Linked DNA regions of Homo sapiens: region 2 is linked to region 1. Evidence: promoter capture Hi-C in 16 types of primary human blood cells and fetal thymus (Javierre and others, 2016). All regions are on one chromosome and are shown on one strand. Each heading gives the region's core, a stretch centred on a gene start or on the middle of the fragment in contact. The rest is flanking DNA. Distances are from core to core; before and after follow the strand shown.

Region 1 (7,725 bases), core at 3,544-6,043:
GAAAGTGTCAAACCAAGCAAGTACCATCTTGGAGGAAATGGGCCTGAAGAGTGCTTGGGACAAGGAACAAGCGTGTCTTCGCCTCTCTTGTGAGATGAGGTGTAGCTTGCTTCAGCACATTGGATGTCCGGCCTGGTTTTGAACCTCAGCCTTACTTCCTACTAATTATATGACCCTTTAGCAAAGTTACTTGGCTTCTCCAAGCCTTAGTTCCCCCTACTAGCGCCTGTGTAGGAATGGAAGGTGCTTATACAGTGCCTGCCCTGTGGTGGAAAAGCCAGTCTGTGCATGAGGTAAGTGAGGCACCCATCTCTGTGTCTACACCATTCTGCACACCCATGAGGTTTGTGGAGAGGAAACTGCCTTCTGCATCAGCCTCAAACATTTTAACATGTCAGATCAGGATTCATCTTTTAATCAATCAATGGTACCTTAAGATAATTTGCAGCCAGTTTTCCTTCTTAATGGTATGTAAAACAGCATCTTCTCATCGATACTATCTTAATTTACTGAAACAGCACCTAGCAGAACTGGTGGTGGTCTGCAGTTTATACAATATAAACCTGATCTGGTAACTACCCCAACTCCTCAGGTGTGGTGTATTAGCCCAGTAAAAGGGAAAATCCTCTTTCTGAGTCACTAATAAAATAATTTGGCCATAAACCTATCCTGATTTCTTCTAAGACTCCAACAAAATTTCACCAGAGTGCAGCTTTATGAGCACTGATGAGTCAGGGCTGTACAAGAGCCAAGATGACCTTGGTCCTGGTCTCCTGTCATTTCGTCAACCACACCCTCGCCCCGCCACATACACACTTTGGAGGCCATGGTTTCTTCCATGCTGCTGTCTGCCTGGGGGCCCCTTCTGCCTGTCTCTGGCCCTGGTTGACTGGCGGGCACATCTCTCAGAACAGCCTCTGGTGCCAGTCGCACCTCCATTTGTGCCCACCCAAGGGTTCAGAGGCCTTTCTGTGCCCTTCTTGGTCCTTAGCACATTTTCATTGTCTCCTCATCTGAGCCCATTATATCTAGATCTAGCAGTTTCTGGGAGCCAGGGAGTGGCAGTCTCAGGGGCTGGAGCTCATGAGCCCATCCCTCGGTCTTCTCTTTCTTGAGTCCGCACCCCCTCTATCCTAAGCACCAGTTTGGCTTCTTCAGGTTCTGACTTTTAGCCCAGGGTTCTGGTGTGGCACTGGGCATTTCTAATTGCCCATAGCTCTGATAACAGGGGAGTGGATTCCTTGGGACCGCAAAGCTGATGTCAGTAATTATAGCTGGGGACCTCACCCACCAAACCCAGCCCTTGTGCCTCACCAGAAGGAGAACAGAGGTGGGGGGATGGAGCAGGAGCTCACAGGGAAAACGGCTGAGCTGTCTTGGCAATCTGGTTTGACACGCCTCTCTGCTTTACTCATAGGGTTTCAGTTGTTTGACCTATTTCTCAGAATAGAGCTGAGAGCCTCTGGGATTTTTCCTAGTGAACGAGTTATTAGGAAAAAAAGAATCACAAGGAATAATGTAAAAACCATAGGTTTACAAAGTGTAAAGTGTCAGCAGTTCTGAGTTAGGATAAGTCAGCTGTAAAGAGAACCACCATGAGTGGAGTGATATCGGCTCACCCTGCAGCCAACAGGAAGGGAGATGTCACCCCACCGCCCCCAGGCTGGATTCTGAAACTCTTCAGGCTCTGGAAGTACAAGGGGGCTGACAGCTCCCTTTTACACAGTGTCTCTCCATGGCCCAGCCAGTGCTGTATCCCCTGAGCACTCTGGGTGAGCCCATGGTGGCTGTGCTGCACCCAACTGGACAGATCATCTCAAAGAAGTCCTGACCTCCCAGCAGACCCCTCCTCCCTTCTTCTGCCCTTGTGACCAAGAGTGGTGGGCGTGGACTATGGCTATGTTCCTTAGAGAGCTGCCATAATCTTCCAGGGGCATCCAACAGCACTCTCCCCGAAAGGGGGCTCTGCAAATACACATTTTGGGAGTCTCCCAAATAAACTGAGTGAGTTCAGGACACTGGTTCTCAGCCCCGACTGCAAATTGAAATCATCTAAGGGGCATTTTAAAAGTGTGAGTGCCTGCCCTCTCCCCACAGAGGTGGTGTGGAACCCAGGGGGCTCTGTCATGCAATTGCAAATCACTGCTTTGAGAGCATAGGAGCAACTTCTGGTTCTTGGTTATTATGTACAGAACAAAGGCTCATGTCAGAGAAAAAGCAGTTTTACATCCCTGTCTCTGCATTAGGCTCCAGGAAGGGTGCAGATGGGTCTTTCACATGGGGTCATATGCTCCTGGCCTTTCCATGTCCAGGCAGTCCTTGAGGGCCACTTGGGAGCTGTCTGCAGCAAGCCACAGAAACCCAGGCCATTCCCTGATCCTAACATGGTCTGAACCCTCACCCCCAGGAAGTGATACTGAAAGAGCACATGCTTTGGAGCAAAAAGGCCTGCTACCATTTACTACTTCTGTAACCTCAGGTGAGTCTGTGAGCCTCCATCTTCTGCTCTGTGAAGCCTGGAAATACTGCCTCCTTTATGGAATTAATAGGAGAAGGAAAGTGCATCAAAACAACAACAAATGGAAGTTACAGAAAAATAAAACATCCCCAGTCAGATTTTTCTGCTGATTATTTAAAACAATATAACATTCATACTGATGTATAAAAGTCATTTTAAGTAATTTTAATCATGTAAAGACCGACACGTCCCCTTTCCCCCAATCACAGTATAAACAAAGCTAATAAAGGATAGATAACAAGATATTTGAACCCCAGAAATGTCTGCCACTGAAATGGCCATTGTGATGCTTGGAAAGATCTAGATCGGTTTGGAATTCCAGAGAGAGATCTCAGGCATAAGGGAGAATGGCTTGAATAGAGGAAAGCATAAATTTGATCATTTGATTGCCTACTGCTTTATGGGCTAAACTTGATTCCCAACCACAGCCTTCGTGGTGTGGCCCCTGCCCACCTTGGGCCCCAATAGGTGTTGTGCCATTGCCACCTCTGCCTCTGATCAGCCCAAGGATCTTGTTTCCCTTTCTCCTTCCCCTTTCCTCTGATTAGGGTGGTGTTGCTATGAGTTCTCACAGAACCCTCAATAGCTGGCTCATCTCCCTAACGGGATATGTGGCTATCAGGGACTCGTTAAAAACAACAACAAAACCCACAACTGCTCTCTCCCTCTGCCAGGCACATCATACTGTACTTCTCACAACCACCATTATTGTCCCCAGTTTACAGATGAGAGAAACCGAGGCTCAGAAGGTTCAGTCACTTGTCCAAATTACACAGCCAGGAAGCATTGGGTCCACGATTTGGACTCAGGCAATTCAGATGCCACATCCCATGTTCCTCACCACCTTGGAGCAAATTAATGAAACTTAACAATTATAAAATTATTGAACATTATGAAAACTTTAAAAAATAATTGTCAGTTGAAAAGGATTTCTTAGGAAATGTTGAAAGTTCTTACATTTGCAAAGTATGCATTGGAGGGCACCTCATCCCTGTTCTGTCCCTTTATTCAATATGCATAACAGTTGGGGGCCGCAGTTCCTAAAAAGTAAGAATAAAACATTTCTGGTGAAGTGGACATGGAAGACCTTGTCCTTTTATTACGGGTTTTTTGAGAACCCACCTTCATGTAATCAGAGGAATCTTGGTCATGGGAAATGGGCTGGACTGAAGTCAAGAGACTTGTGTCTTGGTCCCTCTTTCCCTCTTCTCAGTGTGGTCATGGGCAACTCATTTCCACCGTTCTTCCATTTCCCCTTCCCATGGATCATAATCCAGTCCTCCCCCTGACAGGAAACCGCAGCAGTATGCAAGTACTGTACCATTAAGGGGAATGATGTAGACCCAGAACGGCCAAAACATTGGCAATTTCACATCACTCAACCAAACACAACCCATCATTGATTAAATATTCTCTTGATCCTAATAGCTCTATAAGGTAGTACTATTATTAAGGCCCATTTTATAGATAATAGAACTGAGTCTTAACTGTACAAAGATTGTTATACATGGGTCTGACTCCAGAGCCCGTGTTTTTTCCATGACCGTGGTGACTTCTAAAATAAAATATCCCGCGTTGCTATTTTTCCGTTTGACATTAATAATTACTGGATACCAATAATAGTGGCGACGCACTGGTTTCAGCATTACAGGCCCTGCGATATTCTCACGAATCTCCTTGCCCTCCGGCCCCTTCCCCGTACTTAAAATTTTCCTTCCTCAGGGGCCAGTCACCACTGTGGTCACATGTGGCAAACCCATTCTTGCATAACTGCGTAAGTCATCCTTGAAGAATTGGGTGACGTTTTAACCAAAATATGTTTCTTCTTTATTTGTGGATAAAAGTCTGGAGGGTTTTTCTGTTTTGTTTTTCTACGAATATTATTTGGAGGCATAACTAGGACCTGGGGAAACGCTTGGCTCCTCTTCGAGCCCCGAGGGTGCAGGTTGGGCAGGGCGGGCTCCGGTGGGCCGCACACCCATCACCCGTACTAGCGTGAGGTTGTCGAAGAGAAAATCTCACGTTTCGCATCCTCAAATTTCCGGATCTGAAACCCTATGCAAGCAGCAACCGCGGGAGAGCGAACAGCGGCGGGATGAGCATTCACAAGGCTGAGCATTCACAGGGCTGCGGGGAAGGCGGGAGTAACAGCTAGCAGCATACCGCGGCCCCGCCCCGCAGAGGCCCTGCCCCGCCCCCGCCAGAGTACAGAGTACGAGCTCCGACTTGGTCTCGTCCGCGGTCGTCCCCACCCCTCAGCGCGCTGTGGTACGTCCCGCGCTCCGCTTGGCCCAAGATGGCGGCCTCCGTGTGCAGCGGGTTGCTGGGGCCACGGGTGAGTGGGGCGACTCGGCAGGTCCCTGCGAGTCGGAGGTGGGGTCCCTAGTTTCCGCCTCACGCGCCCTCCCTCCACAGGTGCTGTCCTGGAGCCGAGAGCTGCCTTGCGCTTGGCGCGCCCTGCACACCTCCCCGGTCTGCGCCAAGGTGAGCACCGCCGGGGCAGGGGCCTGGGGGCCTGGGGGCCGGGGGGCCGGGGGCCGGGGAAGCCGTGCGGGCTGAAGGGGGCGTGTCGCTGGGGTCCGAGGCGGGGCTAGGGTCGGGGCTTAGGGATCAGGGGATTGGGGCCGGGGAACAGTGCCAGCTGACTGGGGGGACATGGCGCGAAGTAGGGGTCTGGATCGGGGATCTCGTGGAGTCACGGCCCCTTTTGCTCCTAGAACCGGGCGGCCCGAGTACGCGTAAGCAAGGGGGACAAGCCGGTGACCTACGAGGAGGCACACGCGCCGCACTACATCGCCCACCGTAAAGGCTGGCTGTCGCTGCACACAGGTGAGCGGACCCCAGGCCTCCAAAAGGAGCACTCAATCCGACTGTCATGTAAACAAAATGAACACGTGTCACAGGTTTTCTTTAACTCAGGAAATAATGCTAGGGTCAGAAATCTATGAAACCAACTCAAGGGAGACATAAAAAAGCAGAGATATATATAGATCAGGATGTTGAAACAAATTTGAAGATGGATGCAAAACTGACTTTTTCCATGGCAGGCAGGGACTCAATTGATCCTCCACTGAACAGAAATTATTTGCATGTCTACAGACAAGAATTATTTTGCATTCCTGTCAGTTATCTGTAATTTACAGAGCTGTAAAATAGCTCAGAGTCAAGGAAAGGAGTGAAACCGTTGCAGAATCTGATAACCCTGAACAGTGTGCTCTAAGGAATGCAGTTTTCCACTAAAGCACAAATTTTTCTCTGTAAATATATACAGACAACCCTCGTTATTCATGAATTCCATATTTTCAGATTCTTCTACTGACTAAAATTTATTTGTAAGCCCCAAATCAACACTCTGGGCACTCTCAAGGTCACTCTGAGATGTGGGTGGAGCTGCCACCCCAGGTGCATGTCCCGAGCTGAGGTCGACAAGGCTCTGCCTAGTTTCAGCTCTCGTACTGTAAAAGGTGTCCTTTTTATGGTCTAGAATCTTTTTTTTTTAATTTGCATTTTCGTGCTTTTTGTTAGTGATTTTGCTGTTTAAAATGGCCTTGCAATGCTGAAGTGCTATCTAGTGTTCCTAAGCGGGAGAAGGCTGTGACGTGCCTTAGGGAGAACATACATGTATTAGAGAATCTTTCTTCAGTCATGAGTTGCTCTTGGCCCTGAATTCAATGTTAGTGAATCTACCATATATATTAAACAAGGTGTCTTTAAACAGAAACACAAAGGAAACTAGGTTATGTATTGATTTGTTAACAAAAATACGGTGCCCAGAGGCTGAAAGGAATCTAACCCTGTATTTCACCTAGGAGCAATGGTTCAGTATTCACTAAGTCAGTGTTGGCAGTGACTTTATAGAATATAACTATTGTGAACAATTGATAACCAACTGTGCTTTGTTTAGTACAGGGGTTCTTGGATGTTTGAGATGCATCTAGAGAACTTACTTAAAATACAGATGCTTGCCTGGCACGGTGGCTCACGCCTGTAATCCCAGCACTTTGGGAGGCCGAGGAGGGTGGATCCTGAGGTCAGGAGTTCAATACCAACCTGGCCAAGATGGTGAAACCCCATCTCTACTAAAAATACAAAAAAATTAGCTGGGCGTAGTGGCGGGCGCCTGCAATCCCAGCTATTCAGGAGGCTGAGGCAGAGAATTGTTTGAACCCAAGAGGCGGAGGTTGCAGTGAGCCGAGATCACGCCACTGCACTCCAGCCTGGACGACAGAGTGAGACTCCATCTCAAAAAAAAAAAAAAAAAAAAAAAAAAAGAGAGAGAGATGCTTGTCTCCCACTCTTTCAGGTTCTGGTCTGAGGTTTGGATGTAGGTGTGCAGACTCTTAGTGGACATTGTAAGGGCTGCAGGGGATCCACAGTTCACACTGAGGAACCCACTGGTGGAAGCCCTGGGCCTAGCTCATGTCCCTAATCTCAAAAATAGCTGGTAGCCTCATCTTTCTGGCCCATGGGATGACCAGTGTTTTTATAAGGCAGCCAAGAAAGCAGGAAAGGGGCTAGATGTGGTGGCATCATCTTGAGTTTTGTACCCTGACTCAGGCCTCCATCTTCCTTTTTGTAAAATAAGGATAATGATAATACCTACTAAACTGAATTGGCTTGGGAATTAATGACATAACATACTTTGAACTTTAAAGTGTTATTTTTCTTATTCCATTAGCAGAAGAAAAGAGAAGAGGCTGGGGGTGAAGGGTGGGATTGTGCTCAGCGCTTTTGGATGTTGACTCTGGAGTTATGGCAGGGCCCTGGGGCAATGAGGCTGATTCTTCTATTATGCCCTTCCCTCTTCAGGTAACCTGGATGGAGAGGACCATGCCGCAGAGCGAACGGTGGAGGATGTTTTCCTTCGCAAGTTCATGTGGGGTACCTTCCCAGGCTGCCTGGCTGACCAGCTGGTTTTAAAGCGCCGGGGTAACCAGTTGGAGATCTGTGCCGTGGTCCTGAGGCAGTTGTCTCCACACAAGTACTACTTCCTCGTGGGCTACAGTGAAACTTTGCTGTCCTACTTTTACAAATGTCCTGTGCGACTCCACCTCCAAACTGTGCCCTCAAAGGTTGTGTATAAGTACCTCTAGAACAATCCCCTTTTTTCCATCAAGCTGTAGCCTGCAGAGAATGGAAACGTGGGAAAGGAATGGTATGTGGGGGAAATGCATCCCCTCAGAGGACTGAGGCATAGTCTCTCATCT
Region 2 (7,725 bases), core at 680-3,179, 290 kb after region 1:
TGTGTTCAATATTCTCACTAAGAAAAAATAGAAAAGTTGACAAAAGTTAAAAATTTCCTCTCCCAGCAAGGACTTGGATGACTGAAATCCTGGAAAGATAGGCAGCTCAGAAAGCCACCACTTTTCCCATGAGGTATTTGATGATTTTAAAGCCATGGCTGAAAGAGTGAGAAAGTAAGCAGAGCTTTCAGTCATCTCATGGGGTTGGGGAGACAAAAAAAAAATTGGAGTTTAGGACCTATTTATGATGAGGGGCTGGTAAGCAACTAGGCTTTCAGCTGGGACTCCGAAGAGCTATACCCTAGGGGTGTGGATGAACGGGAAATAGACCCAAGGGCTGAAAACCAGCTTCAAATGGCAACAGTAAATATTCTCTCTGGGGAAAAAAAGCATCATTCAGAGCAACACATTACCCATATAATATTTTATACACCATGTCTGAAACTTAATTTAAACAAAGGACACAGAATTGTCTTAAAAACTAAGGGAAAAAGAAAACAGAAATAAACACACAGAAGATCCAGATATTAAAGTTTAAAGACAGATTTTAAAATAATTCTGTTAAATATCTTCAAGAAATTAAATTGCAAGATAAAGAGTTTTCAGCAGAGAACTGGAAACTCCAAAGAAGAATACAATGGAATTTTGGAATTGGAGAAAAAAACACACTAACTAAAACTACTACAGAATTATGGGCTTAATAACAGATGAGATACAACTTAAGCAAGAATTAGTGAAGCTAATAAGCAAAACAAAATATGAAAAATGACATACAAGAGATATGAAAGAACTTTCTATAAAAGAGATAAGGTCTCAGAAAGGAGACTATGACACATGTGATATGTGGTAAAACATTCTAACACACACGTAATTGGAATATCAGGAAGAGAGGTGAGAGAAAAAAGGAAAAGAAGCAGTATTTGAAAAGATAACGGCTGGAAATTTTTTAAAACTAATGAACAACAATTCTCAGAGTCAAGAAACATTATGAACATAGAGCAGGATTTCAAGCAAAGAAAACCATGTCTAGGCACATTGTAAACTACTGAGAAACAAAATCAAAAAGAAAAGGTTTAAAATCAGCAAAGAAAACAGAGATATAATCTGCAAATGAGCAACAATAAAATTAAAAGCTTATTCTCAAAGAACCAATGGAAGCCTAAACACCTTCAAATGTTTTCAAAGCGCTAGGAGAAATTACCTATCAACCTATATTATATACCCAGTAAAAATGATCTTCAAAATTGAAAATAAAATACAGCCAGTTTTATAACCAAGAAACACTAAGATCATCAGCTGATTTACATTAAAGGAAATTCCAAAAGGAGTTTTTCAGGCAGATGGAATATAATCCCAAATGAAATCATGGAGACATCTAAAGGAATGAAGAGCAATCAATCCTTTTATATATGGATAGATATAAATACATATATATATATGGATAGATATAAATAAACACAATTTATATAAAACAATAAAAATAACGTCATGTGAAGTTTAAATATATGTAGAATTAAAATATACACAATAGCAGCACAAAAAGTGAGATAGAGTAAATGAAAGTAAAGTGTTCTAAAGTCCTAGGATTGTATAGGAATTGATAAAAGTACTTGGCTTTAATACATCAATAATGAATATTATAATCTCTAGAATAACAGCAAAAGTAATAGAAAAAGAATGAATAACATGTAAAAAAGAGGGGAAATGAAAAAATAAAAAATAAAAGAAGCAAGAAAGGGAAAAAAGGAACACAGACAAGTAGAAACAAATAGATGATCACTTTGGGAAGCCAAGGAGGGTAGATCACCTGAGGTCAGGAGTTCGAGACCAGCCTGGTCAACATAGTGAAACCCCCATCTCTATTAAAATAAAACACAAAAAACGAGCTAGGCGTGGTGGTGGGCACCTGTAGTCCCAGCTACTCGGGAGGCTGAGGCAGGAGAATCACTTGAACCCAGGAGGCGGAGGCTGCAGTGAGCCGAGATTGTACCACTGCACTCCAGCCTGGGCAGCAGAGTGAAACTCTGTCTCAAAAAAAAAAAAAAAGGTAAATTTTTTAAAACAGGAGGGTTTTTTGGCAAGTACATTAAATATAAATGGAATCTATACTCCAGTTAAAAGGCAAATGCTATGGACAGAATTAAAAATAATATCAATTATATGTTGCTTGTAAGAGACACCTCAAATAAAAGGCTACAGAAAGATTGAAAGGATGGAAAGAATTATGCCATGTAAATACAGGCATATCTCATTTTATTGCAATTTGCTTTATTGCACTTTGCAGATATTACATTTTTTACGAACTGAAGGTTTGTGGCAACCTTGCATCAAGCAAGTCTACCAGTGCCATTTTTCCAACAGTATGTGCTGTCTTCATTTCTTTCTGTCACATTTTGGTAATTCTCACTATGTTTCAAACTTTATTATTACTATTATATCTGTTATGGTGGACCGTGATCTTTGATCTTTGATGTTATTATTGTAATTGCTTTTGGGTACCATGAATTGCACTCATGCAAAGTTAATTGATAAATGTGTGTGATCTAACTGCTCCACCAATCAGCCCCCCATTTCTCTTCCTCTCCTCAGGCCTCCCTATTCTCTGAAACACAACAATATTGAAATAGACCAATTAAAAACCCTAAAACAGCCTCTAAGTGTTCAAGTGAAAGGAAGATTCCCATGTCTTTTACTTGAAATAAAAGCTCAAAATGGTTAAGCTTAGTGAGGAAGGCATGTAGAAAGCCAAGATGGGCTGAAAGCTAGGCCTCTTGAGCCAGTTAGCCAAATTGTGAATACAAAGGAAAAGTTCTGGAAGGGAATTAAAAATACTACCCCAGTGAACATATTAAAAATACTACCCCAGTGAACATAGGAATGATAAAAATAGTGAAACAGCCTTCTTGCTGATATGGAGAAAGTTTGAGTGGTCTGGATAGAAGATCAAACCAGCCACAAGATTCCCTTAAGCCAAAGCCTAATCCAGAGCAAGGCTTTACCTCTCTTCAATTCTCTGAAGGCTGAGAGAGGTTAGGCAGCTGCCAAAGAAAAGTTTGAAGTTAGCAGAGGTTGATTCATGAGATTTAAGGAAAGAGACTATCTGCATAACATAAAAGTTCAAGGTGAAGTAGTAAGTGCTGATGTAGAAGCTGCAGGAATTTATTTAGAAGATCTAGCTCAAGTAATTGATGAAGAGAGCTATATGAAACAACAGGTTTTCAGTGTAGATTAAATGACTTTCTATTGGAAGAAGATGTCATCTAAGACTCAGAGTTAGAGAGTAAAAGTCCAGGCTTGGCTTCAAAGCTTCAAAGGACAGGCTGACTCCCTTGTTAGGGGCTAATGCAGCTCATGACTCTAAGGTGAAGCCGATGCTCTTTGACCACTCTAAAAATTCTAGGGCCTTTAAGAATTATGCCAAATCTACTCTGCCTATGCTCTAGAAATCGAAAAACAAAGGCTGGATGACAGCACATGTATTTACAACATAGTCTACTGAACATTTTAAGCCCAGTCTGGAGACCTAGTGCTCAGAAAAAAAAAATAGATTCCTTTCAAAATATTACTGCTCATTGACAATGTACCAACAACCCAAGAGCTCTGATGGAAATGTGCAAGGAGATGAATATTGTTTTCATGCCTGCTAACACAACATCCATTCTGCTGTCCATGGAACAAGGAGTAATTTTGACTTCCAAGTCTTGTTACTTCAGAAATATATTTTGTAAGGCTGTAGCTGCCATAGATAGTGAATCTTCTGATGGATCTGGGCAAAGTCAATTGAAAATCTTCTGACCATTTTAGATGTCATTAAGAGAATTCATGGTTCATGGGAGGAGTTAAAAATATCAACATTAACAGGAATTTGAGGAAGTTGATTCCAATCCTCATGGATGACTTTGAGGGGCTCAAGACATCAGTGGAAGATGCTTGTTATAGATGAGCAAAGAAAGTGGTTTCCTGAGATGGAATCTACTCCTGTTGAAGATGCCGTAAACACTGTTGAAATGACAACAAACGATTTAGAATATTACATAAACTTAGTTGATAAAATGGTGGCAATTTTGATTCCAATTTTGAAGGAAGTCCTACTGATAGAGGCAAGAGGCAGACAAAGGCCTAGGCAGATAGGGAAGGGTCCCCGGAGAATCTCCAACTCGCCCCACAAGTGTTTACATCAGATGTTTTGTGCAGATAAGGGAACCTGCACAGGGGACTTGCCTGAGCATGCCCGCAGTGAACTGGAGGCCCACAAGCACTGGGGGAATGGGGTGGAGCCACCAGGAATTCGTGTCTTATGCAGGGGAGGAGCCTGGCTAAGGAGCCTAGATAAGGAGCAAAAAAATCCTGCATCACTACTGTGTGGGTAAAATGCTATCAAACAGCATTGCATGCTACAGAGGAATCTTTTGTGAAAGAAAGGGTCAATCAATGTGGCAAACATCATCTTTGTCTTATATTAAGAAATTGCTACAGCCACCCTAACCTTCAGCTACCACCACCTTGATCAGTCAGTTGCCATCAGCATGGAGGCAAGACCCCTCACCAGCAAAAAAATTACAACTTACTGAAGGCTGAGATGATCAATAGCACTTTTTAGCAATATAGTATTTTAAAATTAATGTATGTTGTTTCGCATATACATTCATTTAAAATGTACAATGTATGTACATTGTTTTTCTAGACATAATGCTATTGCTCACTTAATAGACCATAGAATAGTGTAGACATAACTTATATATGCACTGGGAAACCAAAAAATTTGTGTGACTTGCTTTATTATGATATTATTACTGCAGTAGTCTGGAACTGAATCTGCAATATCTCTGGGTTATGTATGCCTATTGTGCCTAATAGAAAATTGGTTGTACCTATAAAAATATTAGACAAAGTAGATGTTAAGGCAAGAAGTATTATAAGAGATAAAATGCATTAGTGAAAAAAGAATCAATTCAATGCTATCTTTAAAAGATAGTATTGAAATATACGAAGCAAAATGACAGAACTAAAAGGAGAAATACACAAATCTACCATCACAACCTGAGATTTTTAACACATTCCTCTCTGTAACTGATAGAACAAGCAGGGAAAAAAATAGAAAGGACATAGAAGCATTGAACAACACAATGAACAAAATTGACATGATACACATACAACACTACAGAATATATATTATTTTGCTGCAAAAAGAATATTTATTGATTATGTAGTGGGTCGTAAAGCACTTTTCAACAATTTTAAAGGACTGAAATTCTATAGAGTATGCCCTATCATCATAGTGGAATTAAGGAAGAAACCAAATGTCATCTATTATTTTGATATAAAACAACCACAACCAAAAGCCACAATCACAAATAAGTGGAAATTGGCCAATTTACTTCTCATCTATGTTGACAGAAAATGCTGGGAAAAAACATTGCATAATATTCAATACCCACTCATGACTGATTAAAATAGAAGGGAATTTCCTAAACTTAAGAAGATACATCTCTAAAAAACCTACAGAAGTATTATCGTTGAAGTCAGAGGCACAGCAAAGTTACGTGCTATCACGACTCTTATTCAGTGTTGCAGTTGAGAACCTAAATAGTGCAGTAAGACACTCTGGCATTAATATTGGAAAGGAAGAATTTAAATGGTCATGAAGGAATAGTCACAATTGTTAAATGTAGAGAATTCTATATTCTACTTCTAGAATATCCAAAAGAATAAACTGGACCGGGCTCATGCCTGTAATCCTAACACTTTGGGAGACCGAGGTGGGAAGATCGCTTGAGCTTAGGAGTTTGAAACCAGCCTGGGCAACATAGTGAAACCTTGTTTCTATTAATGCTATTTTAAAATGTAATAAAAAAGGGCTGGGTGTGATGGCTCATGCCTGTAATCCCACCACTTTGGGAGGGAGGCCGAGGTGGGTGGATTGCTTGAGGTCAGGAGTTCAAGACCAGCCTGATCAACATGGTGAAACCCCGTCTCTACTAAAAATACAAAAATTAGCCGGGCATGGTGGCGGGCATCTGTAATTCCAGCTACTCGGGAGGCTGAGGCATAAGAATCGCTTAAACCCGGGAGGTGTAGGTTGCAGTGAGCCAGGATAGTGCCACTGCACTCCAGCCTGGGTGACAGCATGAGACCCCATCTCAAAAAAGAAAATTTTAAAATAAAAGAAAATAAATAAATAAGTAAAATGTAATAAAAAAGAATCAACTGAAAAATATTAAAATTAATATATTTTAAAAGACAATTAGGTTTAATAAAAATAAATCAATAGCATTCCTACATAATAACAATGAGATATGAAAGCTAATGGGGAACTATTCCATTTGAATAAAATGAAAATAAAGCATGCAGAAACGACCCTCACAAAAATGCACAAAGCTTATATTTTATTTTAAAGAATGTATCTATTCTAAGAGACATAAACAAATGCTTCAATAGAGATACATAGATGAAAAGATTAGATTCTGTAATTCTTTGGAAATAAATCAGTATCTTTAACAAAATTCTAATAAGTCTCAAAAATATGTCTTTTGGAATGTGTTAAAATTATCTCAGAGTTCATCATGAAGAATATCCAAATGAGTGTAGCTAGAAAATTTTTGCAAAAGAAAGTCGTAAGGAGAGAACTGTCCTAACATATTAAAATACAGTATGAAATAAGATAGCTCAACATAGCAGAATAGTTTTGAAATAGAGTTATAATATTTAAGAAACCACAATAAGCCCCAAATCTTCTAAATCATTAAATGTAAAACAAACAAACAAAAACTACAAAATCTAGAAAGAAATGACACATAACAATTAGCTGACTTTTTCTTTTTTTGTTGTTTTTTTGACACGGGGTCTCACTGTTGCCCAGACTGGAGTGGAGTGGTGCCAGCTCGGCTCACTGCAACCTCTGCCTCCTGGATTGAAGCGATTCTCTTGCCTCGGCCTCCCGAGTAGCTGGGATTACAGGCATGTGCCACCATGCTTGGCTAATTTTTGTATTTTTAGTAGAGACAGGTTTTTGCCATGTTGGCTAGGTTGGTCTTGAACTCCTGGCCTCAAATGATCCATCCTCCTTGGCCTCCCAAAGTGCTGGAATTACAGGCATTAGTCACTTTGCCTGGCCTTGACAATTAGCTGATTTCTGAAAGAAAAAGTAACTTCTAAGAAATAAAGCAGTGGAAAAAAACTCCAAGAAAAATATTTGACTACCTAATAATTCAAAAATCATTGCATATCAAAAAATGTTATATGCAAAGTTAGAAGGCAAACAAGCTGGAAATACATTAGCAAAAAGCATTATAGATAAAAATCATACCCTAAATGAAGAACATATAATAAGAGGTGTGCCAACACTATATTAGAAAGAGGTCAAAGAAAATAAAAGATTTTTTTATAGTGAAATGTTCAAATTTAATTTATATTTCCTGGAGAAATATAAATGGGGTTTCATTTTTGCCAATAAAATTGGCAAAGATTTTTAGGGTAATTCAATGCCCATTGTTAGTGATAATGGGGAGAAAGACTGGAAAGATAAAAACCCAAGTGCTTTTTGTTTCCTTGTGTTGTTCTGATCTGTGTTTTTCTGTATAGAGCGCTATACCTGATTTTATCAGATATTCTTACCTGGCCCACCTGTTTTAATATCAACCTGAGTTTATCTTTATCAAATTGCATTATAAGTGTATACTTTCTTTCTTCCTAGTTAGATCAGAAGGGACCATTTATTCTATATCC

What was found. Contacts are between HindIII fragments. The CHiCAGO score rates a contact against its expected background, and 5 or more counts as called.
Region 2: a fragment that was not itself captured here is called in contact with the fragment with the promoter of MRPS24 in region 1 in 2 of 17 cell types (monocytes and total CD8 T cells); the score reaches 7.8 in monocytes.

Annotation. Positions count from the first base shown.
Region 1 is chr7:43,866,585-43,874,309 of GRCh38, reverse strand. It overlaps MRPS24 (mitochondrial ribosomal protein S24), which reads left to right and starts at 4,793. Exons shown (of 4, transcript NM_032014.3): 1 at 4,793-4,853; 2 at 4,934-5,002; 3 at 5,236-5,347; 4 at 7,328-7,725. The coding sequence starts at 4,815. The coding sequence ends at 7,611. It overlaps URGCP-MRPS24 (URGCP-MRPS24 readthrough), which reads left to right. Exons shown (of 7, transcript NM_001204871.2): 5 at 4,934-5,002; 6 at 5,236-5,347; 7 at 7,328-7,725. The coding sequence ends at 5,324. It overlaps LOC124901620 (a long non-coding RNA gene), which reads right to left and starts at 4,664. Exons shown (of 2, transcript XR_007060296.1): 1 at 3,476-4,664; 2 at 2,668-3,362. RefSeq lists silencers at 2,219-2,394, 4,662-4,721, 5,022-5,081 and an enhancer at 4,312-4,431. The HindIII fragment of the contact is 8,402 bases long and covers 1-7,725 here.
Region 2 is chr7:43,574,153-43,581,877 of GRCh38, reverse strand. No RefSeq gene overlaps it. Among named protein-coding and RNA genes, the nearest start is that of STK17A, 5.1 kb to the left of the region's middle. RefSeq lists enhancers at 3,917-4,418, 3,550-4,749. The HindIII fragment of the contact is 1,587 bases long and covers 1,136-2,722 here.